Linked DNA regions of Homo sapiens: all the other regions are linked to region 1. The links are contacts of gene promoters, found by promoter capture Hi-C in blood cells and fetal thymus (Javierre and others, 2016). All regions are on one chromosome and are shown on one strand. The core of a region is centred on a gene start or on the middle of the fragment in contact, and the rest is flanking DNA. Distances in the headings are between cores, read along the strand shown. Region 1 holds the start of NOD1 (nucleotide binding oligomerization domain containing 1). Region 2 overlaps LOC124901607 (a long non-coding RNA gene). Region 3 overlaps LOC105375220 (a long non-coding RNA gene). Region 4 overlaps LOC105375220 (a long non-coding RNA gene). Region 5 overlaps LOC124901607 (a long non-coding RNA gene). Region 6 overlaps ZNRF2 (zinc and ring finger 2). Region 7 overlaps ZNRF2 (zinc and ring finger 2).

Region 1 (3,807 bases), core at 604-3,103:
TTGAGTCTGTATTGGGGTCAAACGGTATTGCAGAAGAAAATAAGGCGTTTAGGTTTTAGGTCAGGTGTGAGTTGAAGAGGTTTTAAGTTCTTGAGAACACAGGCTAAGGGAGAAGAAGGGGGAATGGAGGGTGGAAGGTTGCCCATAGTGAAGGAGGCAAGCCCAGAGAAAAGAAGGTAGAGACCCGGAGAAGGGGGGTGGTGAGCAGCCCTGGGCTGCAATGTGGCTGAGCAGCCAAAGCAGGCGACCCACAATTGACTTGCCACCAAGGGAATGTGGGTGAATGACCAAGGCAGGCATCCCCACGGTGATCAGACACCAATGAAATGTACGTGAATAATCAGGCAGGTGTCCCTGCAGTGATTAAACACCAAGGGACGACTGTTTTCCTGAGTCCGTGACCGGAGCTGGAGTTTTGGGTCCATGGATAAAATATGTCTCCTTTGTCTCTACTAGAGAGGAGAAAGAACTGGAATTGGAAATAGAGGGAGATTTAAGGGTAGTGAGAGAGGCTGGAGAAGACAGTGAAAAGACCGCTTACCCGATTTGAAATTGGTGAGATGTTCCTTGGGCTGTTTGGTCTGAGGACCCGAGGTCATAGGTGGATCTCCTCACAGAGTGAGGGTGAGGACAGGGGACTGGTCTCCTGAAGGAGTCCTCCTGTCCCGGGTCTTCGGCACCAAATGTCACACGTGTCCGTGTGAAGAGACCACCAAAAGGCTTTGCGTGAGCAATAAAGCTGTTTATTTCACCTGGGTGCAGGTGGGCCGAGTACGAAAAAAAGAGTCAGCAAAGGGAGTTAGGGGTGTGGTAGCTTTATAGGATTTGTGTGGGTAGTGGAAAATTACAGTCAAAGGGGGTTGTTCTCTGGTGGGCAAGGCGGGGGCCGGGGGGGTGGAAGGTCTACAAAGTGCTCAGTGGGGGAGCTTCTGAGCCAGGAGAAGGAATTTCACAAGGTAATGTCATCAGTTAAGGCAGGAACCAGCCATTTTCACTACCTTTGTGATTCCTCAGTTGCTTCAGGCCATCTGGATGTATACATGCAGGCTTGGGCTCAGAGGCCTGACACAAGTTGGCACATTTGATCCTATCAACTTTAGTTTGCACTTTCACTTTTGATTTAAGAACATACTTTCTGTTTCTCAGAGGGCAGCCTCTGATGGGAATTTTAATACTCACAAGCATCAGTGGCTATATGATTGAATGTACTTCTTCAGTGTGAGTAAGTGACAACTTTCTGTAGCATGATATCCCTTATGGACACGATCCCCATTCAAAACGTTTTAAAACTATTTTATTGGGGACATTTATTAGCATGTTAAAACTCTTTTACAACCTATTAGAGCATATGCATAGAACATAAAATGTACACTGCCAAGAACAAATTTAAGGATAGGAAGAAAAGCTTACATTTTTTAAAAAGTATAAATTGAAATGTATGCAGTGTAATTTAAATTTGATTACGTTAACCTCCATTTCATCAGGACCACGTGTCGCGTTTTAACAAGAGTTTCCCTATCATGTCCAGGCTTTGGCTCTGGTTGCAGGCGCTGGGTAGGCACTTTTACGAGGAGGGACCTGGCACGATGGCACCACAAATTCCCAAGTGTGTCACCTCTGGGCGAACTTGGGCCTGTCCACTCGGCCCTGCGCGGTGGCCAGGGGCTCACCCTCTCGCACCGGGCGTCCCTCTGCGCGCAGCTTCTCTCGCCCCCCCGCGCCAGACCCGGGCGAATGGCAGCACCGTGGGACCCTGCCTTGACCGCCCCCGCCCTTCGGCGGCCTCTCCCAGCAGCCGGCAGGCTCTTGGGCGCGCCAACAGAGGGGCGCGGCTGCGGCTGTAGTCGCAGCCAGTTCCCGTTCCGGGCCCGCGAGGCAGCCGCCCCGGTCCTGCCCCTCCCTCGCGCTACTGCGGGAGCAGCGTCCTCCCGGGCCACGGCGCTTCCCGGCCCCGGCGTCCCCGGACCATGGCGCTCTCCGGGCTCTTCTCTAGCTCTCAGCGGCTGCGAAGTCTGTAAACCTGGTGGCCAAGTAAGTCCCAGCGACTGGGGATTCGCGCGGGGCAGGCCCTTTCTGAGGTCCTGGGCGCTGCGAGTGAGGAGGCGCAGGGAGGCGGGATTTGCGTGCGGGCGGAACGCAGCGCGGCTCTGGAGGAGCTCTGGGTGGAACCAAGCGGAGAAACCCGCGAGTTTGAAGCATGTAGCGAAAGTTGAGAGGGATGAACTTCACAGTCAGCGGAATCGTTTATCCCACTGTGGTCGAACGCAGGGGTTCTCAATCGTGCCAGCAGCTTAGAACCACCTGGGGAGCTTTTAAAATCCAGATATCCAGGCTGCACCCTAGATCAATTCCATCAGAATCTCACGGAGTCAGACCCAGGCCTCCGTATCTTTTAAAAGCTCCCCAAGTGATTCCAGTGTGCAGCCAGCGTTCGAGGGTTTGTGGCAAAGGCTGGAAGGGCAGACAGGGGCCTTCATGGAGTCCCGCCTGCAGACGGGACAGCAGCTCCCAGTGTCCTGCTTGGTCCTGGAGAGAGGGTGAGAACTTCCCTTGGGTTTCATGCTCCACAAAGTAAGGAAATGAGACAATGCTTGGCAAGGTCGCCTGAATATCACATTCAAAAACGCCTCCAATGTGTGCAGTTGTTTTGGCACATTGTGAAAAACATAGGAAATGACAGAGGTTGATGTCTCATTAGCTCTGCATTCTAGGAAACATTTCGGTTGTTGGTGTTTGAAATTAAGTCTGGGGAAGCTAAGCTAGTAAACCCATGGCCTTGATGACTTCTGGCCTTTCTGCTTTAAGGGTGAAGCCAGGGCCGGGCGCGGTGGCTCACGCCTGTAATCCCAGCACTTTGGGAGGCCAAGGCAGGCGGATCACCTGAGGTCGAGAGTTCGAGACCAGCCTGGCCCAACATGGTGAAACCGTCTCTACTAAAAAAAAAAAAAAAAAAAATTAACCGGGCGTGGTGGCGCATGCCTGTAATCCCAGCTACTCGGGAGGCTGAAGCAGGAGAATTGCTTGAACCCGGGAGGCAGAGGTTGCAGTGAGCCGAGATCGCCCTGTTGCGCTCCAGCCTGGGCAACAAGAGCAAAACTCCGTCAAAAACAAACAAACAAACAAAAAACAAAAAAACGGTGAAGCCAGAAGTCGTGCTTGCCAAAGGGTCGAGTTTGTTCTCCCTCAAAGCCCCTGTTGAAGATTGAACTATCACTTTCAGGGAAGAGTAAAAGAGTAACTCCACGATGCATCTTAGAGAGGAGTGGATTCCCTGTTCTCACCCAGGCTTAGATGCCAGGGGCCAGGTAGCTGAAATCCAGGCAAACCAGGCATTGACAAAGTACAGACTTCTACCGAATATGCCAGACAGATAAGCAAGCTGTGTTTAAAACAAACAGCAGAGTGGTAGAAGAGGGCTCTTTCAAATATTGTAAGAAGAGTAGGTTTTATTTTTGTGGAGTGGAGAAATAAGTTCACGCTTTGGAACCCATCAAATCTGGGTCAAAACTCGGATTCTGTCACTTCTATGCTGTGACTTTGGGCAAGTTCCTTGACCTCTCCAAGCCCCTGTTTTCCCACCTGTAAAATAAAGAGCAACCCTCTCCTGAGGCTAGCATAGTTCAGCGAGATGATGTGCATCACACACCTGGAAGGTGGTGGCGCTGGCAGGTGCTCTGGCAGAGGTAGTTATTAGACACTGGAGTGGCAGTTTGTGCCCGTTAATTGTTTACTTAGTACAGCCACTATGAGGGAGAATGTCTATAAAATGTTCCCTTCAACGCTCCATTCCTTCTCCTGCCCTGCTGC
Region 2 (3,807 bases), core at 699-3,198, 240 kb after region 1:
CAGAGCTCCAGGTGCCATTTTGAACCATGAGGTGACCTTGGGAATGGAAGCCACTTGTGGCAGAGCAAAAAGAAGAAACCTGGGTCCCTGACACCATGGAGCTCCATTCCAATCATGGGTTGCCTGCTTCTAGATTTCTGGAACATTAGAAAGAAATAGCTTTTCAATTCTTTTAAGCCATTCTTACTTGTTTTCTTTCTGTTGCTTTATGACCAACATAATCCCAACTACATAACGTCCTATGACAATGGCTATTATCCCAGTTCTAGCACATGATCTGTCACCAGGGCATGCATGTATCAAACGCAGGAAAGTCTGTAGAAATGATTCCAGGAGAGAGAAGAGAAACCATCATTTATAGTTTTATGAAACATTTATTGAGCTGTCCCTACTATGGGCAAGGCACCGTGAGGGATTCAAAAGTGAATGGGTCTCATCCCATGAAGCTTAACTATCAAATTGACATGAAGGAGGTCAGACAGTTGTGTACGGAGTTTGTTGAGTGTTTCTCCTCCATTTGGGCTTCCTGTTACTGCCACTTTGTTCTTTGTGAAGAACTTCTACATGTCAGGCACTGTGCTAGGTGCCGGAATCACAATGATATACTAAAGCAGATGTAGTATTAAATACATCTCCTTGTGCAGTTAACAGTATAGGATGATGTCATATGCTATAGGTATACTTTGGGTTCCTGTGTCTTTAAAAAAGTAAAATTCCAATGGAACAGAACAGAGCCCTCAGAAAAAATGCCACATATCTACAACCATCTGATCTTTGACAAACCTGACAAAAACAAGAAATGGGGAAATGATTCACTATTTAATAAATGGTGCTGGGAAAACTGGCTAGCCATATGTAGAAAGCTGAAACTGGATCCCTTCCTTACACTTTATACAAAAATTAATTCAAGATGGATTAAAGACTTAAACGTTAGACCTAAAACCATAAAAACCCTAGAAGAAAACCTAGGCAACACCATTCAGGACATAGGCATGGGCAAGGACTTCATGTCTAAAACACAAAAAACAATGGCAACAAAAGCCAAAATTGACAAATGGGATCTAATTAAACTAAGGAGCTTCTGCACAGCAAAAGAAACTACCATCTGAGTGAACAGGCAACCTACAAAATGGGAGAAAATTTTCGCAATCTACTCATCTGACAAAGGGTTAATATCCAGAATCTACAATGAACTCCAACAAATTAATAAGAAAAAAACAAACAATCCCATTAAAAAGTGGGTGAAGGATATGAACAGACACTTCTCAAAAGAAGACATTTATGCAGCCAAAAGACACATGAAAAAATGCTCATCATCACTGGCCATCAGAGAAATGCAAATCAAAACCACAATGAGATACCATCTCACACCAGTTAGACTGGCGATCATTAAAAAGTCAGGAAACAACAGGTGCTGGAGAGGATGTGGAGAAATAGGAACACTTTTACACTGTTGGTGGGACTATAAACTAGTTCAAACATTGTGGAAGTCAGTGTGGCGATTCCTCAGGGATCTAGAACTAGAAATACCATTTGACCCAGCCATCCCATTACTGGGTATATACCCAAAGGATTATAAATCATGCTGCTATAAAGATACATGCACACGTATGTTTATTGCGGCACTATTCACAATAGCAAAGACTTGGCACCAACCCAAATGTCCAACAATGATAGACTGGATTAAGAAAATGTGGCACATATACACCACGGAATACTATGCAGCCATAAAAAATGATGAGTTCATGTCCTTTGTAGGGACATGGATGAAGCTGGAAACCATCATTCTCAGCAAACTATCACAAGGACCAAAAACCAAACACTGCATGTTCTCACTCATAGGTGAGAATTGAACAATGAGAACACATGGACACAGGGAGGGGAACATCACACACTGGGGCCTCTTGTGAGGTGGGGGGAGGGGGGAGGGATAGCATTAGGAGATATACCTAATGTTAAATGACAAGTTACTGGGTGCAGCACACCAACATGGCACATATATACATATGTAACTAACCTGCACATTGTGCACATGTACCCTAAAACTTAAAGTATAATAACAAAAATAAAATAAAATAAAAAAGGAAAATAAATAAAAAGAAAAAATAAAAAAGTAAAATTTTATTAACATTTCTTATTTCAAAAGTGACATATTCAATAAGCAGAAGAAAATAATCACATATAATTCAGGGACAAATATTTTTAACATTTTGATATTTTTATACTTTAAAAAAATTAGGATTATGTGTTTGGGTACCTACTTTTTCAGTCAATATCATGTTGTAAAAATTTTGCCATAACAATATGTATATTCCCACAACAATATTTTTAGGGGATATCATGTATTCCATTGAATGGAGCTAATGTAATTTATCCAATCCCTTATTGCTGGACATGCAGGCAGATCTTAATTTTCACTCTTATAAACAGTTGCTATGATGAATCTTTATGTAGTTAAATGTTTTTTATATTTATGATTGCTTCCTTGGAATAAATTCTTCAAAGTGGAATTGCTACATTAAAATTTTTGTAAAATTCTAAGAGTTTTGGTACAAATCTAAATTAACTTTCAATAGTTAGACAAATTTAGTCTCCCTCCAGCAGGCCAGGAGTTTTCCTAAATGGTTCTTTTTTAATATAACTACATTGACAGGGCTCCCATAACTCGATGAATCACTTGTGCATTTGTATGAATCGTTTTTCAGACTGTTTCCCTTCCCAGAGGAAAGAGCAGAGCTCCCAGAGAGGCAGGAGCCTGGCAAAGGGCACAGAAAGATGGGCCAGGCCTGTGAACAGCAGTCCCAGCCAAAGGCCTTCTCCACAAGTAGACCTGCCTAACTCCTGCAGAGTGTTCCTCAAGCTGATGAAAATGCACATTACATTCATTCTAAGGGCAGAATTTTCTCTTCCCATGAGTGACAAAAAAAAAGATAAATAAATAAATTCAGAATTCTCAGATTGCAGCTCCAAGTCCTGCCAGCAACAATTAGTTGTAGAGAGGATAATGGTGTTTCCTCTTCTCGATCTTCACCTTCTCATACTTTTCTTCCTCTCTCATTCTTTGTCATCTATTATTTTCCAAAATAAAAATAGCTTTGTTGAATTTTCTATTTATATCCTTTCCAAGCAAGAAATAGGGATCTATATCACCATTTGAATGAATGTTCATTATCCTATTGTGGGGACGTTGTATGATTTATTTAACATGTATTAAATAATGTCTTGACAGCCATTTTGTTGTCTCCAATCTTCAATTTTTCACTAGTGTGCATCCCGACACCTCTGTCTTTGTATGCTTGTCCAATTTCCTCCTTAGGATAAATTCCTAGAAGAGGAATTGGGTCAAAGTAGATGCCTATCACCAAGCTGCCCTGCAAAGGGTTTCACCAATTTACTTCAAGAGGGAGGTTCCTAACATTGCAGGCAGGGCATGGGCACAGAAAAGCTTCTCCTCGATTTCTATTTCTTCCTTCCTTTCCTGTTAGCTGAGAGAGGCAAGTTGCTTTCTAGAGACCCCAACCACTCAATTAACTCTGTTAAAACTCTTCCTTCCTTTCTCAGATTAAAAAGAAGAAGAACTGTTTTGTGTCTTAGCCAGGAGCCCCACACCTTCTGTTACAAAGGAGTAAAATTGAAGGTGCCAGTCATTCAGTTGAAAACAAAAATTGCTGAAACTCGGTCCCACTGAGTCATCATCCATTAAAAACCTTGTAAGTTTTGTGTGTGTTTAATACATCTGGTATATTCACACAGAGGCCCACACACGTTTGATTATTTATACGGGGAAGGGTGTGTGTCTAGGGGATA
Region 3 (3,807 bases), core at 741-3,240, 240 kb before region 1:
TTTCCAGGGTCCCACAGTCAGTCAGAGCCATTGTGTATGGTTTTGCAAGTCGTCAACTAACAGGACAATAATGTCTCTGCAGCCAGTCACAGGAAACTGTAACACAAGTCAGAGTGTCAAGTGAGAGAAAGACCAGCTAAATGGATGAATGTATTCATTTCTGATTGCTGTTGTAACAAATCACCATGAACTTAATGGCTTAAACCCACAAATGTATTCTCTCACCACTCTAACAATCAGATGTCCAAAATGGGTTTGATGGAGCTAAAATCAAGGTGTCAGCAGGGCTGCAATCCTTCTGGAGGTTCTAGGGGACAAACTGCTTCCTTGGCTTTTCCAGCCTGTAGAATCTGCTTGCATTCCTTGCCTCATGGCCCCTTCCTGCATCAAAGCCAGCAACACTGCCCCAAGTCTTTCCCACACTGCCGTCTCTCTGCTTCTCATTCTCCTGCCCCCTCTTCTACTTGTAAGTATTCTTGTGATTACAATGGGTCCATCTGGATAATCCAGGATAATCACCCCATCTCAAGTCAGCTGATTAGTAACTGCTGTGGTTTAAATGTGTCTTCTCCAAAAATTCATGTGTTAAAGCTTAATCCCCATGGTGGTGATATTGGGAGAGGGAGATGGGGCCTTTTGGACAGTGATTCAGTCATAGATTCGTGCCTTGTAAAAGGGCTGGAGGAAACTAGCTTAAGCCCTTTGCTTCTCTGCCATGGGAGCACTCAGGGTATGTCTCCTCCAGAGGACACAGCAACAAGGCACCATCTTAGAAGCAGAGACTGGGCTTCTGGCAGAGACAGTGAACCAGCCTGTGCCTTGATCTTAGACTTCCAACCTCCAGAACTGTACGAAATAAATGTCTGTCCTTTACAAGTTATCCAGTCTCAGGTATTTTGTTACAGCAGTACACACAGACTAAGACTGAAATCTTAATTGCATGTGAACCTTAATTTCCCTTTGCCATGTGACCTAATGTTCACAGGTTCTGGGATTAGGATGTGGACCTCTTCAGGAACCATTCTTCTGCCTATCACAATGGATGCCCAGAGGCCTAAGAGATTGTTTTCGAGCAGAGGAGAGATGACAGAACCCAGACCAGCCCAGAGAAGAAGGACAAGCAGAAGGGATGGGCAAGGAAAGACAAACAACATGGCCTGATTCAGAGACACTGGCTGAGCGAGCAGGTATGCCCTGCCCGAGGAAGTGTGGGTGTGTTTGCTTGTGTGTGTCCCATCTGTCTGTATATCTCTGTATGTGTGCACACACGCATACATGCCCGTGTGTGTGCATGCATGCATAATCCTTCCTTACCCTTCCAACTGTCTCATATCAGACTTCTCCAAGGAGGTAAAATGTGAGCAGGACTTTAAAGGCAGGGCAGGGCAGTGAGCTGGGCTCTATCATCCTGTCCCCAGTAAGCAGGCCTCAACTTTGGCTGGAGGCCATCCCTACTCCCTCCCAGGTCTCACCTCTGCCTAGGTGAGCAGCTCCATAGCCACACAGGCTCTGGGCAGGGCTGAGCTATCCAGGCAGGGATGGAGGTAGAGGGTGGAAATGAAATTTCTTACCACACCAGGCCTGGTTCCTACAGCACTGAGCTCACACAAAAGGAAGGGCAAGCTCATGGTGTCCCACACTAAGGGCAGACCTCCCACCTGGTCTCCAGAAGGAGGCTGAGGCACGTATGCAGCCAGGGTTCTCCTGAGACCCCACATCCAGGTAGCAGGAACAGCACGCAGGCAGGGCTCCCCTGCCGCGAATAAGCAGTCCCCATAGCCAGGAAACATCAGAGTGGACTGAAAACTACAAGACGAAGCCCTCCTGAAGACAGAGAGGCTGAGGCCCAGAGAGGTCACAGGGCTAGGTAGGATAGAGCTGGGGTGGAATCTGAAGTTCCTCTTCAGTTTCTTCTTCCCTCCTTTACAGGATAAGAAAATAACAACAGGGAACAGATGAGGACCCCTGGTCCAGCATGGTCTGAGTACATAGGAAACCTCAATGAATGCTAAATAGTTGGGTGAGTTGATGCATGAATAGATACAGAGAGGGAGGGAGGGAGGGAGAAATGGAGGAAAGGAAGAGTAAATGGATGGATGGATGGATGGATGGATGGATGGATGGATGAATGGATGGATGGATGAATGATGGATGGATGGATGGATGGATGGATGGATGGATGGATGAATGGATGCATGAATGATGGATGGATGGATGATGGATGAACGGATGGATGGATGGATGGATGGATGATGGATGGATGGTGTAGGGAAGAGAAAGAGAGATCAGACTGTTACCGTGTCTATGAAGAAAGGGAAGACATAAGAAGCTCCATTTTGACCTGTACCTTGAACAATTGCTTTGCCCTGAGATGCTGTTAATCTGTAACTTTGCCCCAACCTCTTTGCCCCAACCTTGAGCTCACAAAAACATATGTTGCGTGGAATCAAGGTTTAAGGGATCTACAGCTGTGCAGGATGTGACTTGTTAACAAAATGTTTACAAAGAGTATGCTTCATAAAAGTCATCGCCATTCTCAAGTCTTGATAAATCAGGGGCACAGTGCACTGCAGAAAGCCACAGGGAACTCTGCCCTGGAAAGCCGGGTATTGTCCAAGGTTTCTCCCCATGTGATAGTCTGAAATATGGCCTCGTGGGATGAGAAAGACCTGACCGTCCCCCAGCCCGACACCTGTAAAGGGTCTGTGCTGAGGTGGATTAGTAAAAGAGGAAAGCCTCTTGCAGTTGAGATAGAGGAAGGCCACTGTCTCCTGCCTGCCCCTGGGAACTGAATGTCTTGGTATAAAACCCCATTATACATTTGTTCAATTCTGAGATAGGAGAAAAACCACCCTATGGAGGGAGGTGAGACATGTTGGCAGCAATGCTGCTTTGTTATTCTTTACTCCACTGAGATGTTTGGGTGGAGAGAAACATAAATCTGGCCTACGTGCACATCCAGGCATAGTACCTCCCCTTGAACTTAATTATGACACAGATTCTTTTGCTCACATGTTTTCTTGCTGACCTTCTCCCTATTATCGCCCTGCTTTCCTACTGCATTCCTCTTGCTGAGATAGTGAAAATAATAATCAATAAAAACTGAGGGAACTCAGAGACTCGTGCAGGTCCTTGGTATGCTGAGTGCCAGTCTCCTGGACCCGCTGTTGTTTCTCTATACTTTGTCTCTGTGTCTCATTTCTTTTCTCAGTCTCTCATCCCACCTGACGAGATATACCCACAGGTGTGGAGGGGCAGGCCACCCCTTCATCTGCCGCCCAACATGGGTGCCTTTCTCTAGGGTGAAGGTACGCTAAGAACGTGAGCATTGAGGACAGCCAAGGAGAGATTCCCGAGTATGTCTATGGTCAGCCTTGTGGTAAGCTTGTGTGCTTGGAGGTACCCAGGGTAACAATGGGGCAAACTGAAAGTAAATATGCCTCTTATCTCAGCTTCATTAAAATTCTCTCAGGAAGAGGGGGAGTTAAAACTTCTACAGAAAATCTAATTATGCTATTTCAAACAATAGAACAATTCTGCCCATGGTTTCCAGAACAGGGAACTTCAGATCTAAAAGATTGGGAAAAAATTGGCAAAGAGGTTGGGGCAAAGTTACAGATTAACAGCATCTCAGGGCAAAGCAATTGTTCAGGGTACAAGTCAAAATGGAGTTTCTTATGTCTTCCCTTTCTACATAGACACAGTAACAATCTGATCTCTCTTTCTTTTCCCTACAGATGGATGAATAGATGGGCACTCATCTACAGGATTCTGATACAGTCATGGCATGCACCACATTGTCTCATC
Region 4 (3,807 bases), core at 940-3,439, 220 kb before region 1:
GGTGAGACACTCTCATTGTCCAGCTTGGTGAATAGCATTTGGCCAATCCACAGTGGCTGGCTGCTAGCCTGATCACGTGGCTGGAAAAGAGCATGCCTGTTCTTTGCTCCCAAGGGAACAAAATCCGTTCTTAGGAGGCAGAACCATCTGATATGAGAATGGTCTGTGGCCCTCCAAAGAGGCAAGTACATGACACATATACAGTATGTCTGTGGTATTAAAATTTCATGGTAGGAGGGAAGGCAATTAGGAAAATAAATATCTAAAAAGCCTCCTTGTAAATAATAATGGGAAAAAAAAGGCTGAGCAGCGTTGGAGTAGAGGATGGAGCATTTCTCAGAAGGACAGTACCATCTTGGGACAAAACAAAGAAATGTCCAGTTCAGCTCCCGCTTCCTGCAACCTCTCACCTCTCCTAACCCTGTATCCAACATGCCCCAGCACCTCCTCCTTCACTGCTGGCACAGGCTGTTGTGTATTGTAGACTTTTCTGAAGATGAGGCATAACATTCATTGACAATTCACCACCATAGGGAAGCTCCTGGTTCATCCATGCTTGGACCTGGCCTGTGCCAGTCCGTGTCTCCTCTTCTTTTTCCTCCTCCTTTCTAGAGCCCAGCTCCTAGCCCTTCTACACTGTCTCCATCTTGGAATGCCATGCTCAATCTAGTCATTTCAATAGCTTTGCTTTACAAAGCTAGTTAGGTCTCTTTCCACACACTTCTCTTTTAGATCATGCTGAGTTTGTCTTTCATCACCAAAAAGGCCCATGAAGGCATTTTCAAAAACATAAAGCCTCCTTTCCACACTGAATCTACCCTTAGTAACACAAAGCTTATAAACGAGCAGGTTGTTATTAACCTGCTCAGATCACGTTGCTAGGCAAGGTTTATTCTACCACCAGCAGCCTCAGAAAGTGAAAGGCTGTCTAGAGGAAACCCTGCAGGCTCAAGTTTTTTGTTTTTTTATTGTCGTTGTTTGTTGTTAACACCTTCCATTTAGAGGGATCAAGTCCAGACAGACTTCTTTGACCATTTAGGCTCCCTTAGATGGGGTTCCCCAAAGGTGAGGATTCCTGTGCAGGGATGTGTAAAGAAAATGTTCCCAGGAGCGACTGGTAAGAGACGAGGCAAGGCAGGACGGAGAATGGAAAAGATCCCAGGCAGAGTCCCGGCCTCTGCCTGGTTCCACAAGGAGTTCTAGAATGTCCATTACACTTCAGAGTTCCTTCCACCTCCAGGCAAAGGAACACCAATCACTCAATGCTAAGGATGCCCTTAGGGGGTTGGGAGGATATAAATTCCTGGGTACTTTGTGCAAAAAGTGGTTCTCATTGCCCCAGGAGAGTTCTAAGAAAGTTCTAGGTTGTGAAAAGGGACCTATTTAGAAGCACAAGGAAAGCCAGGGGAATGGCACTGACATGGATTGAATCTGTGTGCCCCCACCCCCCAGATTCCCAAGTTGAAGCTTTAACCCTTGATGTGATGCTATTTGGGAGGTAATTAGGGTTTAGGGTTAGGTGAGGTCATGAGGGCAGAATCCCCATGATGGAATTAGTGCCTTTAGAAGAAGAGGAAGAGACAAGAGTCCAACATCTCTGCCATGTGAGGAAACAGCAAGAAGGTGCCACCTACAGACCCAAGAGAGGGCCCTCATCAGAACCTGACCATGCTGGCACCCTGATCTTGGATATCACCGCCTCCAGAATAGAGAGAAATCAATGTCTGTTGTTAAGGCCACCCAGGGTATGGTACTCTGCTACAGCAGCCCAAGCTAAGACAGGCACCCAGAACACCCCCCCAAGAGAGGAACCTGGGCTAAGCACCACAGTGCCTACTGCTACCCGGACCCTCCTAAAGCTGCAGAGAATCTGGCTTCCCTCCAGCTTGCCCCACCCAGCCAGGCTCCCAGCTGCATGAGACCTTGCTCCCTGCTTCTGCTCAGGAGACTTCCCCATTTGCAGTAAGGGTCTCCCATTCCTCCATCTGCTTAAACCCTTCAAGGTGCTCCTGCAGTACCTTCCCAGGAAGTGCCCTCTCACTCCCCTGAGCTGGCCCAGCACCTGTGCCATGTCCCACCTCCCATCAGTTATGGATGCCAGGTCTCATGGGTTCCCCATGCCTCTCCTTCCCATGTCCCTGCACACTCTGAGGCTGGCCTCTGCTCTTGGTGCCTGCTATTAGGCTGGCCCCTGGAGACCTACAGCTGAAGGCTGCTGAAGGGAACTGTCCCAGCCATCTTTCAGAGTCTGCCCAGCTCTCAAAGTCCTTCCCAGCTTATGATGTTTTGTAGGAGGTATCCACCTTCTACAAGGAGCCCTCTCTGACCAAGCCCATCTGGCTGGGTCCGGGAAAGCCAAATCCTGCCCCAGGACTTGGGATAGGGTTTTCACCCTGCCACCTTCAAATAAATGAGGAATCCGATCAATTCTTCCTCCATTTTTCCTATAAAGATTTCCCTGTACCACTGAGACTAAGCTCTGTACAAAATAGGAGGGAAGGGAGAAGAAAAAACAAGGAGAGGAAGGTTGGGGCACATCCACATTCATCCTTATCCTCCCAGAGCTTGGAGAACAGTCCACACCAGCGAGGCAGAGCTTCAGACTCAGACCTGTGAGATTTCACAGGAGAGGGAGGTGGGACCTGGAACAGCCAGGAAGGCTGCCTGGAGGAAGGGGCTGAGGGTGGGGAGGAAGCACTCAAGGACAGAAAAGTGTCCCATGTCTTAGATAGGGAGACCGGAAGGAGCACAGAGTGTCTGAGTTACTTAAATCGGGACTGAGTTTTCCAAGGTCTCTCTCCACCATGCCTGCATCTCCAGGAGAAAGTTTGGTGCCCCACTAATCACATTCCTCACATGCTTTCCCCTCAGATCCTAACAACAAGCAAGGTGCAACTGTGGCTTAAGCTTTTAAACCCCCTGCACCAGGCCCACCTGTCAGGAACAGCTCCTAAGGAGGCTTCTGAGGCTCTGGAAGAACAGACCTCACCTCATGAGCCCTGACCCAGCCCCAGGTTGAACCTGTCCCCGCCAAGAACAGCACTGCTCAGCCACCTGATATCAGGATCCCTAACCATTTCCTGAAATGGAACCTGGGCCCCATACAGACAGACACCTGGGCCCCATCCCAAGCTACTTCATTGGAATCTCTGGGTGAGCCCTGCCATGGCTGTATTTGCTGTCGGTTGGGTTTTTTTTTTTTTTTTTTGAAAGCATTTTATTTTGATAGAATTTCAAACGTACAGAAAAGTTGGAAGAATGATCCAAAGCATATCCATATACCCCTTTTCCAGATTTACCAACAATTTACATTTTGCCCCATCTGCTCTCTTGTTCTATCTATGTATCTATCTGAGTTTATTTCTGAACCATTTGAAAGTATGTTGGAAACATGGTGCCCCTTTAATCCTAAATGTGTATTTTCCAAGAATGAGAACATTCTCTTACCTACCCACAGTACAGTATCAGAATCAGCAGATGTAGCATTGATACAGTACTATCTAACCCAGCATCCACACTCCCATCTCAGTCATCCCAGTAGGCATTAGCACCTGTTAAAAGCTCCTCAGATAGGTGTTAGGCAGTGCTGGTTCAGCTGAGACCCAGGGCAGCCCAACCCTGTGCTGAAGCAGGGACCACAGCCTAGGCCCCTCCTGCCTGTCTCAATTCCTCTCTCCCACCTGGGGAGCTACAGCCCCGGGCAATGCTGGCAGCCGATAGAAGGCATTAACCCCTTCTCTGCAGGCTGGATGGAGAGCATAGCCCCTTGGCTGGCTGGGTAGCAGCAGCTGTCTGGGACCAGCTATA
Region 5 (3,807 bases), core at 875-3,374, 200 kb after region 1:
AGTGAATTTTTTTATTTTCTATATGTTCTCAGAACAAATGCTTGGGCTGAAATGTCCTGAGCAAGGAATGATCTGCAGCAGGGGATGGAACCAGTACAGCAGGTACTTGTCCTTTTTAGGCCCTGAGAACACTGTCTGCATTTCATTTTCAGCAACTCAGAAGTCTAAGGTACAGAAGAAATGACAGAGAATGCTTCTTCTGTCTTTCCATTTTTCTTCTATACACCAATGAAAATAAGTCAGCAGAGATACGATTTCTAGTTCCTTCCTTAATGGCGGCACAGTTAGAAGCAAGACTGCATTTTTAAGGTTGTTGCAGTAACCCAGGTGAAAAAGAATGAGGAGGCTGCACAACAATATGAATGTACTTAATGCCACTAAACCACTTAAAATTGGTTAAAATGGTAAATTTTGTGTTACGTCTATTTTACCTCAATTAAAAAAATAATGAAGGCTGGACAGCATCAGTAACAGTAGGAATGGAAGAAGCTTTTGCAGGACTGATCAAATGATTGGATGCAGATACGTTTTCACATCGTTCTCATAGGCAAAATGTACACATGAACAAATACTAAACTGTTTAGAATACTAATGCCAAAAAACTTCTACAACCTCCACATCGAAACAAACAGACCTGAACATTAGGAAATAATCAGATTTTACAAGGAATGTGTTTTTTATACACTTTGGACATTTTCTTTCATAATATGTAAATATCAAAACCTTCAAGCAAATCATACAGACAAGAAAATAACATGTGCTGCATTAAAAACATACAGACTTAGCAAAGAAAGGACAAAAACAAAAAACCTCCTAAGGCAGTTTTGACTCTCAGAAATATACGAGAGAGCTAAAAACACTGACAGAATTCAGTTGCTTCTGTGAAGCAAGCGAAAAAGGGGAAAATAAATAACTTTTAGGAAGGCACTCCAGACCTGACCTGTACAAACAGCAAATTCAAAGGTTTTGAAAATGATGAGTTTTTACTTTTTAGAGTTTGTAATCAATTGAAATAGTGATTCATTGACATTCTGGGGAGGCATTAGAAATGACCTAGAATTTCTCTGGTAAAACATAGCATTTCAGTACGTTTAGAGGTACACGTAGCTGGTTTCTCCAGTACAGTTTTTAACAGGTGGCATACTAATAATAAATCTTGCTCTGTTTCTTAACACCACTTCCCCCAACTGCTAATGATGGGGTGAAAAAGTGAAAAATACTGTCTAGACCAATATTAATAAGGAGAATGACGGCTACAATTAGGATTTCATTTTAATACAGCAGGATTTTTATACTGAATTAAATGTTCATATATGTTTATTTGATAATAACTCATGAATTTCAGTGGCAAAAAAAAGTTTCTTCTGGAGCTCACAAACAGGATGAACAATTAAAAATAAATAAATAAGTCCCACCATGCAGAAAATTTACTTAGCTTGACACATATGAACTTGAGAGGAACGAGAGTTTTGGAAAGTGAGGCCAGCTTCTCTAGGACTTTGGCAAACTCAGTCATCATGCAGAGGAAAGAAGGAAGCAAGTGCCTGTTACCTTCAGTGCTCAATACTAGAATGATAGCCATCTATGGCCAAATTTGAAATGGTGATGCCTTGAGAAACTAAATAATAAGAACTGTCTTTTTTTTAGATTTAATGTAATCTAGCTAATGGCTTGTGTATAATTTTCCAGACAACTTAATGGATATTTTTATGATTTAAAATAATTGTCTTCCATGTCAGTCAAGACATAAAGAATACAAATTTCCGCATTGGAAGAATGAATAGCCTCAGGAAGAAGTTTATATCTGTTGGAGCAGTAATTCCAGGCACTGGTCTACAGACCAGCACCAGTCTGTAATAAGGTGCTCACAGTGAAATAAGAAAAATTAGGACAGTGCAGTAGCTTTGTTATCCATAAAAAGTTAAATGTATTTCATGCACAAGACTATCTTTAGTCTAAGATTAGATCCTTCCTACCCTATGATAGTTGTAGATGGCCATAGATTTGGGGAGTATTTGGTTTTTTGTTTCTTCCTTTTTAAATGTAGATTTCGTTTTTTGGGACAAAGAAATATTGGCACCCTGATGTTGATTCCTAAACTGTTTTTGAATTTTTACTGACCTGTGAAATCTAAAATGTTGGAAACTGTTGCTCAAGAGATCAGCAGTTCTCACCTTTGTTTTCCCTGCCTGCCCCAACATACTGGAGAGATAGGATATACCCCCATCAGCTCGAGCCTCAGTAAGACTTGTTATCAGCAGAAACTTAGGCTCTTGAAGAGGGAGGGTGCATATCAGAATGGCTGGAAGTCATATATGTACTAGACAAAGGCCCCAGGTGGTTCTAAGAGGGCCCAAACCCCAGCTAAACTGACAATTCTCACTCAGTAATACTGATATATCCAGTGGGCCTAGAAATGACCCAGATACCTCATTTATTAATTTATCATCTTGCCCTCTCTACAGGACTGTTATCTTTACTTCCCAGAAAAATGAGTAGGATTTCTCCGGAAGGCAAGTCCCTCTGAAGTATCCACCAACCAATGCCATACAGGTTTTTTTCGTCTCTAACACCAGTCCTTCACACTGTAATTCAGACACACTTTTCTTTACTCTTTCAGGCCATGCCATGTAGCTATTCTTGGTCATCGTTTCCTCAAGGAAACATTGAAGGGATAAGGTCCAGGTCTTTCAAACTGCCCACTGTGACCCGTTAGTGTAGTGGAAAATGAATCCAGCTAAACATGACCAGTATTTTTTTTTTCTAAAAGAGCATAGTATTGAAAGACTAGAAAATATCAAAGTAGGCTGGATGCAATGGCTCATGCTTATAATTCCAGTGCTTTGGGAGGCTGAGGTGGGAGGATGGCTCAAGGCCAAAAGTTGGAGACCAACCTGGCCAACATAGTAAGGCGTCATCTATACAAAATAAATAAATAAAAATATCAAAGTGCATGGAATTTAGTGAAGCTAAACATTGTTTTATGAAACTTTATATATATTCTGAGCTGAGACATAGAATATTTCTCCTAATATAGGTTATAGTTTTTAAAAAAGTTGGCTGTGTACGGTGGCTCACACCTGTAATCCCAGCACTTTGGGAGGCCGAGGCAGGCAGATCACCTGAGGTCAGGAGTTCAAGACCAGCCTGGCCCACCTGGTGAAACCCCGCCTCTACTAACAATACAAAAATTAGCCAGGCATGGTGGTACACACCTGTAATCTCAGCTACTCGGGAGGCTGAGACAGGAGAGTTTCTTGAACCCAGGAGACGGGTTGCAGTGAGCTGAGATGGTGCCACTGCACTCCAGCCTGGGCGACAGAATGAGACTCCGTCTCAAAAAAAAAAGAAAAAAAAAGTTTGAAAACCATTAGATTCATTCAACAATCTCTATAATCTATTACACCTTAAAATTCTATGAATTTCACTTTGGTAATGAGCATAGAACTCTCCCTTCTCCCACCCTGCTCAACATAGCCCTCAACAAATCCAAGAACTCCTCTTTATCCTTGAGCCTGAGGTCCCATCTGGTATCTCCAGGCAATCTGACTTGGCCTCAGGCCTTCCTCTGGGCTCCCCTGGCCTTTGGGATGGTGCTTAACATACTACTTATAATACTATATTGTAATCGTCCATCTCCCCAGCAAATTGTGCCAGAGTGCACTTGAATGAGTGAAGGAAGGAGGCAAGCAACAGTGTATTTGCTTAAGGGAGTGGTTCACAACCTGGCTTCACATCAGAATCCCCTGGGAAGCTTTTAAAAAGCCCAATACCCAAACCGTACCTGGACAATTAAAGCAGAAGCAC
Region 6 (3,807 bases), core at 615-3,114, 170 kb after region 1:
AATCCTCAGAGGGCTGGCATAGTAGCTCGCGTCTGTAATCCCAACACTCTGAGAGACCAAGGAGGGAGGACTGCTTGAGTACAGGAATTCCAGACCACCCTGAGCAATGTAATGAGACCCTGTCTCTACGGAAAAAAAGTTTTTAAATTAGCCAGGCATGGTGGTGTGTGCCTGTAGTCCCAGCTACTCGAGAGGCTAAGGTGGGAGGATCGCTTGAGCAAATATAAAATGTACCTAACAAAATTTGATAGAATTATTTTAAATGACCTTTTAGCAACTGGGGCCTTAAAATCTTAAATATACTTGGCTAAAAGTATTTTTTGTTATTGTCAATAATCTAATTTTTTTTACAGCCACCATGGCAAATCAACAGGTAACAAGGAAGGCTAAATATACATTAACAGATTACTATCACAACTAAAATCTAATTTAAAGTATAGCAGTTGGGCACCTGACTGTAATCAGTAACGTTTACGTAGATAAAATTTTGCCGACTACTGTTTGCACTCAAATAATTGGACTCAGTGTTACCAGTATTTTCTAAAACAACGCATACATAATATAATCCTTAAGAATTATGTCAAAAATTAATTCAGAACTGAAGGGCTGGTTCTACAAGGATTTTCAAGCTTAGCAGGTAGCATGCCAACTCCTAAGTATTTAAGCCAAGTTTCCTACAACTACCCTAGAACCCAGCGCAACTTTCTTAACACATCTGCAGTTAGTCTGACAAAAGTCATTAACTTTCTTTCCCATTGGGGCTCACCTATGGAAACCACTTTTCATTGGTATGTGTTAGTTACCTTCTTAAAGATACTGCTCTTCATGAAATTCACTCTGCATTATATACTTCCTTAGCTATATTGGGTTTGCTGGTAGTTCGTTTCTACATCCCCCAAATTCACATATGGAAGAATCAAATATAGCATTACAGACTTAAGCATTTATGACTCTTTAGGAATGAAAGGAATTAACATCCTACAGCCTATTTACTATCTATCTTAAAAGTTACTCGTAAAGAAATTACACTCGGGGTAAAATTCTGGGGTTGGTAAAGTGCAGGTTCTTGTGCCGGACCCCTATTGACTCCAAGGGGAATGGCACCAAGTTCAAGAGGCCAAAAACAAGACCCAGAGCCAGCAAACAAAACACGGGGTTTTACTGGAGGCTTACATACAGCGCAGAGAGTACCGCAGCAGTAGACTGGTCAGAAGAATCACCTTACACACAGTCAAGGGGTGGCAGGCTGGACAGAAGAACCACAACAGCTTGGAAAAGGCATGTAGTTTATAAAGCATTTTCAGTTAGCATCCTCCCACTAACAACCTCCACCTGTCAACCTTCTTTCAACCCCAAACTTGGGACCTCGATCCCCTGTACAGCTCATGTTCCACAGGACAGGACAAGACAGGACAGGACAGGACAGGACAGGACAGGGGCTCAGATGTTTCTCCTTAGACAAGGAACGAATCTCCTAATTAGCCACTCTCAGATTCCCTAGCTTGGAACTCACATTCAGTCCTGTATGCCACACAGGGTCATCCTCAAGGTATGCTTAAGAAAATGGCTATCAGGTGCGTTTACCCCACATAGGTCTGCAGGCCAACTGTGGCCTACTGTCAATTTTTGTACAGCCCTTGAGTCAAGAACTTTTTACATTTTTTAATGGCTGAATAAAAATTTTTTAAAAAAGAAAATGCTATGGCATGTGAAAATTATAGGAAATTCAAATTTCAGTGCCCACTAACCAATTTTTATTGAACGTGGCCACACACATTCATTTATGTATTGTCTCTATGGCTTACCCAAACTACAAAAAGAGGGAACAGAGACCAAAAGATCTGCAAAGCCTGAAATATTTACTATCTGGCCCTTTACTAGACATTTGCCAACCCCTGGATTAAGTCTTTAAGAACTGTTCAAAATATCCAAATATTTGTTTCAAAAGAGGAAAGAAAACCATTCTGAAAAAGTTTCGTTATGACAAAAACTCATCTGTAAGCTGCCAGTAAGTTGCATTAAAAAGTTTAGTCTAACCAAAGGGCTAAGGAATAATGAAGATGTTCCAGTCAGGCCAGTGTTACCACTGTTTTCCTGCTGCCACACCTGTTTATTCTCAAGCCATCACCCACCTGGTAGATTTTACCTCCTGAGTATCTGTCAGATTCAACCAATTCTTTAGACATCTACACCACCCTCACAACGTAGCTACTGTTATTTTTTCCTGGACTATGGCAGTAACCTCTCTATGCATCTGCTCTTGACCTCACCCTTCCCCAAACTGTTGTCACAGGCTATCTTCAAAACACCAACCAGACCTGATCACTCCCTGGTTTAAAATACACATAAACAAATACCAACTTTTTATTCATATACAAAGCCATGTATCTTGTTTTCTTCCAACTCCAGCCTCATTTATCTTCCATACCCTAAAACTTTTTACAAATTTTTAATAAATTACATAACATTTTAAAATATATTACATGCTACATATCTATACTTTCCTGATCAGCAAAATTTAGCATTTAACTGAATCACAACAATGCAAAACAAAAATTACCGGGTACCTTTCTGTACTGCTTAATAACAGGTTAGTTTCCTGTACTTTCCTTCTTATCCAACAATTACCAAACATAGTACACACATTCAAAAAATACTCACTGCTTAATTCACTATAAACACTGACTTCCAATGCTCTTAATTCTATTGGAAGTTTAGACGGACATGTGCTGATTCAGGATAGTGAACTCTGCACAATACCACAGCAAAAGGTTGACAGATGTGAAAGTTTGTATGTCTGGGTTTTCAAAGAGTTGCTTCTAAGAGTAAAGAGTCAGGGTGTCTTTTAGCTGTCTACTCCAGTCTTTAACTAGGACATCATCATTATACATGCTGAGTTTTATCAGAGAAGTGATAAATTTCTGAGCACTCTAAACACATTCTTATCCTAAATAATGGTTAAATAATCCCTTTAAGAAATCTAAATTTGACTCTGATTGTTGAAACAGAAAATATTCAGTATAACTATTTGACTAAATACATTAGAAGAGTTCAGAGAATGTTCAAAGTCCCACTCATGATATCCAAATAAAAGCTTATATACTCTGCTTTGCCATTATTTTAGAATTTTTACATGTTTTAATACGAAGCCTATTCTAACTTTTTAAAGTAAAAAGGCCCTCAGTAATAAAGACAATGTCATCATGTAAAGAAAATGGTACATATTCTATATATGAATTTATTTATACAGGAGTGAAGACATCATATTTAGGACCTGTCTTTAAAATAATTCAGAGAAAAGAGATAAATGAAGCCAATACTGCAAAATATAATGAACACTGAATGTGGATGCTGAAGATATGAAGTTTTTAGTTCATTGTACTGTTTGCCTCTACTTCTATGATTTCTAATAATATTTTTAGAAAGTCTGTAGTAAATCTAAGTCAATTTTTTCAGTAAATCTGAAAAGCCAAAATTCAATTCTAATTAAAAGTAACTCAGAAAATACTCAAATTCTAATTTAAAAAAATAAAATATTGACAATACTAATTGTTACAGAGGATGTAAAGAAATACAAACTCTCAAACAACAGTGTAACTAAAAAGCAACATAACCACAGTGGAAAACACTATTAAGCTGAAGGTATACATAACCTATGACTCAGCAATTCCACTTCTAGGTATATATCCCAGAGCAGTGGTTCTCAAATTTTAATGTCCTTAAGAGTCATTCATGTGGAGAGCTTGTTTCGGTTTCCTAGACCCCATCCCCAGAGATTCTGATTGAGGGTGGAGCCCACAGATTTGC
Region 7 (3,807 bases), core at 733-3,232, 150 kb after region 1:
CGTCCCATTGGGATCTCTGCCGAGCCAGCTGCCCAATCCCTGAGAGTTTCTACCTAGTCAGCCAATTTCTTCTTCAGGTACCAGGATGTGGGTGTTCAGATATATTGTGCATTTAAAAAAATAAGAAGGTTTTGGTGAGCTAGTCTGAAAAACCAATATTTCAAATATCATCTCTGTGACAAAGAGTCTGAAACTCTAAATCATCAACTTATATTTGAATTTCTGGAACTCATCCAATTCAGGAGCTTATCTATATAAATATATCCAGTCTGAAGAAAACAAGCCCCACTATTCTTGTGTTATAACTATGAATGTTTATAGACAGTTAACATTCACTTAACAAATAAATTTCAAAATTTCAGATCTAGCTACTTTGGAAAAGGCTGCAAAAGTGTAAGTTAAATGAACAGTATGCTGAAAAAAATGTTCTTGTTTGAGCACTAACACAATTCAGAGGCCCAATGTATCTGATGTATCTCTCTATGGAATCAACATGTAGGAATTCAAATATAAAATTGTGAGGAATCCAGTTGACTAAAAAGATTCAGTTTTAGAGATTCTCTGGCTTTACCTTGTTCTACTTTATAATAATCCTAGATGGTTTGCTTATGAGGTATTAAAGGAGCCAATTTCCATTTGGACTCATCACCTGTGACAGACATTTTGGGGGGGGTCTGACTTTAAAACCAGGTGGCATTAGAATTCCCCTTGCCTATGATAGGAAAGTACATTATTAACCTGCCACCTCTCTGTAACCCTCCAAATCAGTCCAGGCAAAGCTCCTTTCTCCTTCACTTACTCATAACTGGCCACTGTCCAAGAGCTAGTTTTAAAACCTCAAAAACTATACACGGTTTTTATTAAGAAGCTGTATTTGCTTCTTGCTGTGAATGTTTATACAATTAATACATACTTTGAATTTTTTATCTCTACAAAATAAAAAATAAAAGCCAGGCATGGTGGCATGCACCTGTAGTCCTAGCTACTTAGGAGGCTGAGGTAGGAGGATCACTTGTGCCCAGGAGTTTGAGGCTGTCGTGTGCCATGACTGTGCCTATAGATAGCCACTGAGCTCCAGCCCGGGCAACACAGCAAGATCCTGACTCTAAAAACAAAAATATATATATTTTTATTTTTTAAAGCTTTCAGTCAGCAACTTTAAGAATGCCTACAAGTTTATTTACTTATTGCATGAAATTTATTAATTTCTAGATTGAAATACTGTTAAATATTTAAAATTCGAAATATTTGGTTGTTATAGTATCCCCAAGCAGAAGGTTATATATTAGTTCTTAAGACACCAAACAAGTGATCTAGCAGAACAGTTTAATGACTTAGGCATAGTTAAATCAGGAAATTAAGAACTGTCAAATATCCAAACCTGACCAAAAACAAGCAATGGGGAAAGGATTCCCTATTCAATAAATGGTGCTGGGATAACTAGCTAGCCATATGCAGAAGATTGAAACTGGACCCCTACCCCACGCCAACCTCCTTAAACCACATACAAAAATTAAGTCCAGATGAATTAAAGACTTAAATGTAAAATCCAAAACTATAAAAACCCTGGAAGACAACTTATGCAATACCATTATAGACATAAGAACAGGCAAAGATTTCATGACAAAGGCACCAAAAGCAATTGCAACAAAACCAAAAATTGACAAATGGGATCTAATTAAACTAAAGAGCTTCTGCACAGCAAAGGAAACTATCAACAAAGTGAACAGACAACCTACAGAATGGGAGAAAATTTTTGCAAACGAAGCATCTGACAAAGGTTTAATATCCAGCATATATAAGGAACTTAAACAAATTTACAAGAAAAAAGCAAACAACCCCATGAAAAAATGTGCAAAGGAGATGAACACTTTTCAAAAGAAGACATAAATGTGGCCAAGAATCATATGAAAAAAAGCTCAACATCACTGATCATTAGAGAAATGCAAATCAAAACCACAAGGAGATACCATTTCAAGCGTCAGAATGCGTATTATTAAAAAGTCAAAAAAAAATACATGTTGGAGAGGCTGCAGAGAAAAAGGAACACTTAACACACTGTTGGTGGGAGTGTAAATTAGTTCAACCATTGTGGAAGACAGTATGGCAATTCCTCAAAGACCTAAAAACAGAAATACCATTTGACCCATCAATCCCACTACTGGGTATACACCTAAAGGAATATAAATCCTTGTGTTATAAGACACATGCATGCATATGTTCACTGCAGCACTGTTCACAAGAGCAAAGACATGGAATCAACCTAAATGCCCATCAAATGATAGACTGGATAAAGAAAATGTGGGTCCATATATACCGTGTGAATACTACACAGCCATAAAAAAGAAGATCATGTCCTCTGTGGAAACATGGATGGAGCTGGAGGCCATTATCCTCAGCAAACTCACACAGGAACAGAAAAGCAAATTCCGCACGTTCTCACTTGTAAGTGGGAGCTAAATGATGAGAGCACATGGACACAAAGAGGGGAACAATACACATTGGAGCCTACCAGAGGGTGGAGAGTAGGAGGAAGGAGAGGATCAGAAAAAATAACTAATGAGTACTAGGCTTAATACCTGAGTAACAAAATATCTGTAGAACAAACCCCCATGACACAAGTTTACCTATATAACAAACCTGCACATGTACCCCTCAACTTAAAAGTTAAAAAAATTGTTAAATATCACAATACACAAGAAGACTGTATTCTAGATATATTACACAAAAAGTAAACATACAGAATACTAAGACTGTGTGTAAATATATTATTATATGGTCAAATATATTTGTGATTTTCAAATTGAAAGCCAGAAGCTTTAAGATTTATGGATATTTAAAGGCACTCATATTAAACATAAACAATTATAGAATATAAGATAGTGGAGCAGGTATGAAAAACAAACCCATATACTTTTAGTCACAAATTTTGAATGAGAACACTTTCTATTTCTTAAATAACTAAACTTGAAGTAGATAATGCAAAGTAGCCAATTCAATTTCATAATGCAAAAAGGTTAGGATATAATCAACAAATACATTTATTATGCCAAGTAACTGCTTAAAACCACTTTCACATTTCATCAGCAAATGAATGGCAAAAAGTGCTCTATTGTCAACCCTGTAATAGGGTGGCTGAAGCACCACCATACTAGAAAAAGTGAAGGAAAGGGAAGAATTGAGAGACTGATTCTTAGATCAACTTGCAAAACACTACCAAAAGTAATATGCTCATTTCAATGTTAAATTCTACCCCTCCCAACATTTTTGTTACCTGAGGAGAAAGCTCAGATAAGTGCTGCTATATCTACTAAGTTTTTCATAGAACCTTTTTATTTAACCAATAATTCTTAGCTCAAAGAAATCAGTGACTATTACTATTAGTAGGCTGTAAGCTCCATTTCTGTTCATTCACTGCTATATCTCTAATTCCTAACACAGTACCTCGCACATAATTGATGCTCAAAATATATGTTGAATTTAGCCAATCTTTCAATTGGCTATAGTGTTTACTGGTACCCTTTCTACACATTTTATTTCAGGCCAAAATTTATATTTAAAAAAAATGAAATTTCTCTTAAGCTTTTGAAGTCTGTTTCTTTATAAAATTTTGAAAACAACTTTCATTTTTCCTTCATTTTATTCTATTCATTGGTTAGGACAGAACTACTTGATTTTTCCCCCCCAAGTCTATTCCAAAGTATGCCAAGGCTACATTTAAAATCTTTCCTAGGTTTTGGAATATCTAGAGATTTTGGTCAGGAAAGAATGGTACAGTCTAAAACACCAGACCTAAAAAAATACCAG

What was found. Contacts are between HindIII fragments. The CHiCAGO score rates a contact against its expected background, and 5 or more counts as called.
Region 2: a contact is called between a fragment that was not itself captured here and the fragment with the promoter of NOD1 in region 1, in 6 of 17 cell types (total B cells, naive CD4 T cells, naive B cells and 3 more). The highest score is 8.4, in total B cells.
Region 3: a fragment that was not itself captured here is called in contact with the fragment with the promoter of NOD1 in region 1 in 1 of 17 cell types (non-activated CD4 T cells); the score reaches 6.2 in non-activated CD4 T cells.
Region 4: a fragment that was not itself captured here is called in contact with the fragment with the promoter of NOD1 in region 1 in 1 of 17 cell types (non-activated CD4 T cells); the score reaches 5.0 in non-activated CD4 T cells.
Region 5: a fragment that was not itself captured here is called in contact with the fragment with the promoter of NOD1 in region 1 in 12 of 17 cell types (total CD4 T cells, naive CD4 T cells, activated CD4 T cells and 9 more); the score reaches 19.9 in total CD4 T cells.
Region 6: a fragment that was not itself captured here is called in contact with the fragment with the promoter of NOD1 in region 1 in 10 of 17 cell types (total B cells, naive CD4 T cells, naive CD8 T cells and 7 more); the score reaches 15.3 in total B cells.
Region 7: a fragment that was not itself captured here is called in contact with the fragment with the promoter of NOD1 in region 1 in 9 of 17 cell types (naive CD4 T cells, activated CD4 T cells, total B cells and 6 more); the score reaches 13.5 in naive CD4 T cells.

What each region holds. Positions count from the first base shown.
Region 1 is chr7:30,476,830-30,480,636 of GRCh38, reverse strand. NOD1 (nucleotide binding oligomerization domain containing 1) reads left to right here and starts at 1,853. Exons shown (of 14, transcript NM_006092.4): 1 at 1,853-2,031. RefSeq lists a silencer at 1,725-1,964 and an enhancer at 1,613-2,357. The HindIII fragment of the contact is 7,069 bases long and covers 1,408-3,807 here.
Region 2 is chr7:30,233,145-30,236,951 of GRCh38, reverse strand. The region is part of intron 2 of LOC124901607 (a long non-coding RNA gene); the gene reads right to left. Among named protein-coding and RNA genes, the nearest start is that of ZNRF2, 50 kb to the left of the region's middle. The HindIII fragment of the contact is 2,999 bases long and covers 449-3,447 here.
Region 3 is chr7:30,718,047-30,721,853 of GRCh38, reverse strand. All of the region lies in intron 1 of LOC105375220 (a long non-coding RNA gene), which reads right to left. It overlaps LOC105375219 (a long non-coding RNA gene), which reads left to right. Exons shown (of 4, transcript XR_927156.3): 2 at 986-1,187; 3 at 1,930-2,020; 4 at 3,738-3,807. Among named protein-coding and RNA genes, the nearest start is that of INMT, 32 kb to the left of the region's middle. The HindIII fragment of the contact is 2,793 bases long and covers 594-3,386 here.
Region 4 is chr7:30,700,226-30,704,032 of GRCh38, reverse strand. The region is part of intron 1 of LOC105375220 (a long non-coding RNA gene); the gene reads right to left. Among named protein-coding and RNA genes, the nearest start is that of CRHR2, 20 kb to the right of the region's middle. The HindIII fragment of the contact is 1,440 bases long and covers 1,470-2,909 here.
Region 5 is chr7:30,272,185-30,275,991 of GRCh38, reverse strand. All of the region lies in intron 2 of LOC124901607 (a long non-coding RNA gene), which reads right to left. All of the region lies in intron 1 of LOC105375218 (a long non-coding RNA gene), which reads left to right. Among named protein-coding and RNA genes, the nearest start is that of ZNRF2, 11 kb to the left of the region's middle. The HindIII fragment of the contact is 3,265 bases long and covers 492-3,756 here.
Region 6 is chr7:30,308,484-30,312,290 of GRCh38, reverse strand. All of the region lies in intron 1 of ZNRF2 (zinc and ring finger 2), which reads right to left. Among named protein-coding and RNA genes, the nearest start is that of MIR550B1, 20 kb to the right of the region's middle. The HindIII fragment of the contact is 2,465 bases long and covers 632-3,096 here.
Region 7 is chr7:30,325,008-30,328,814 of GRCh38, reverse strand. All of the region lies in intron 2 of ZNRF2 (zinc and ring finger 2), which reads right to left. Among named protein-coding and RNA genes, the nearest start is that of MIR550B1, 37 kb to the right of the region's middle. The HindIII fragment of the contact is 1,675 bases long and covers 1,145-2,819 here.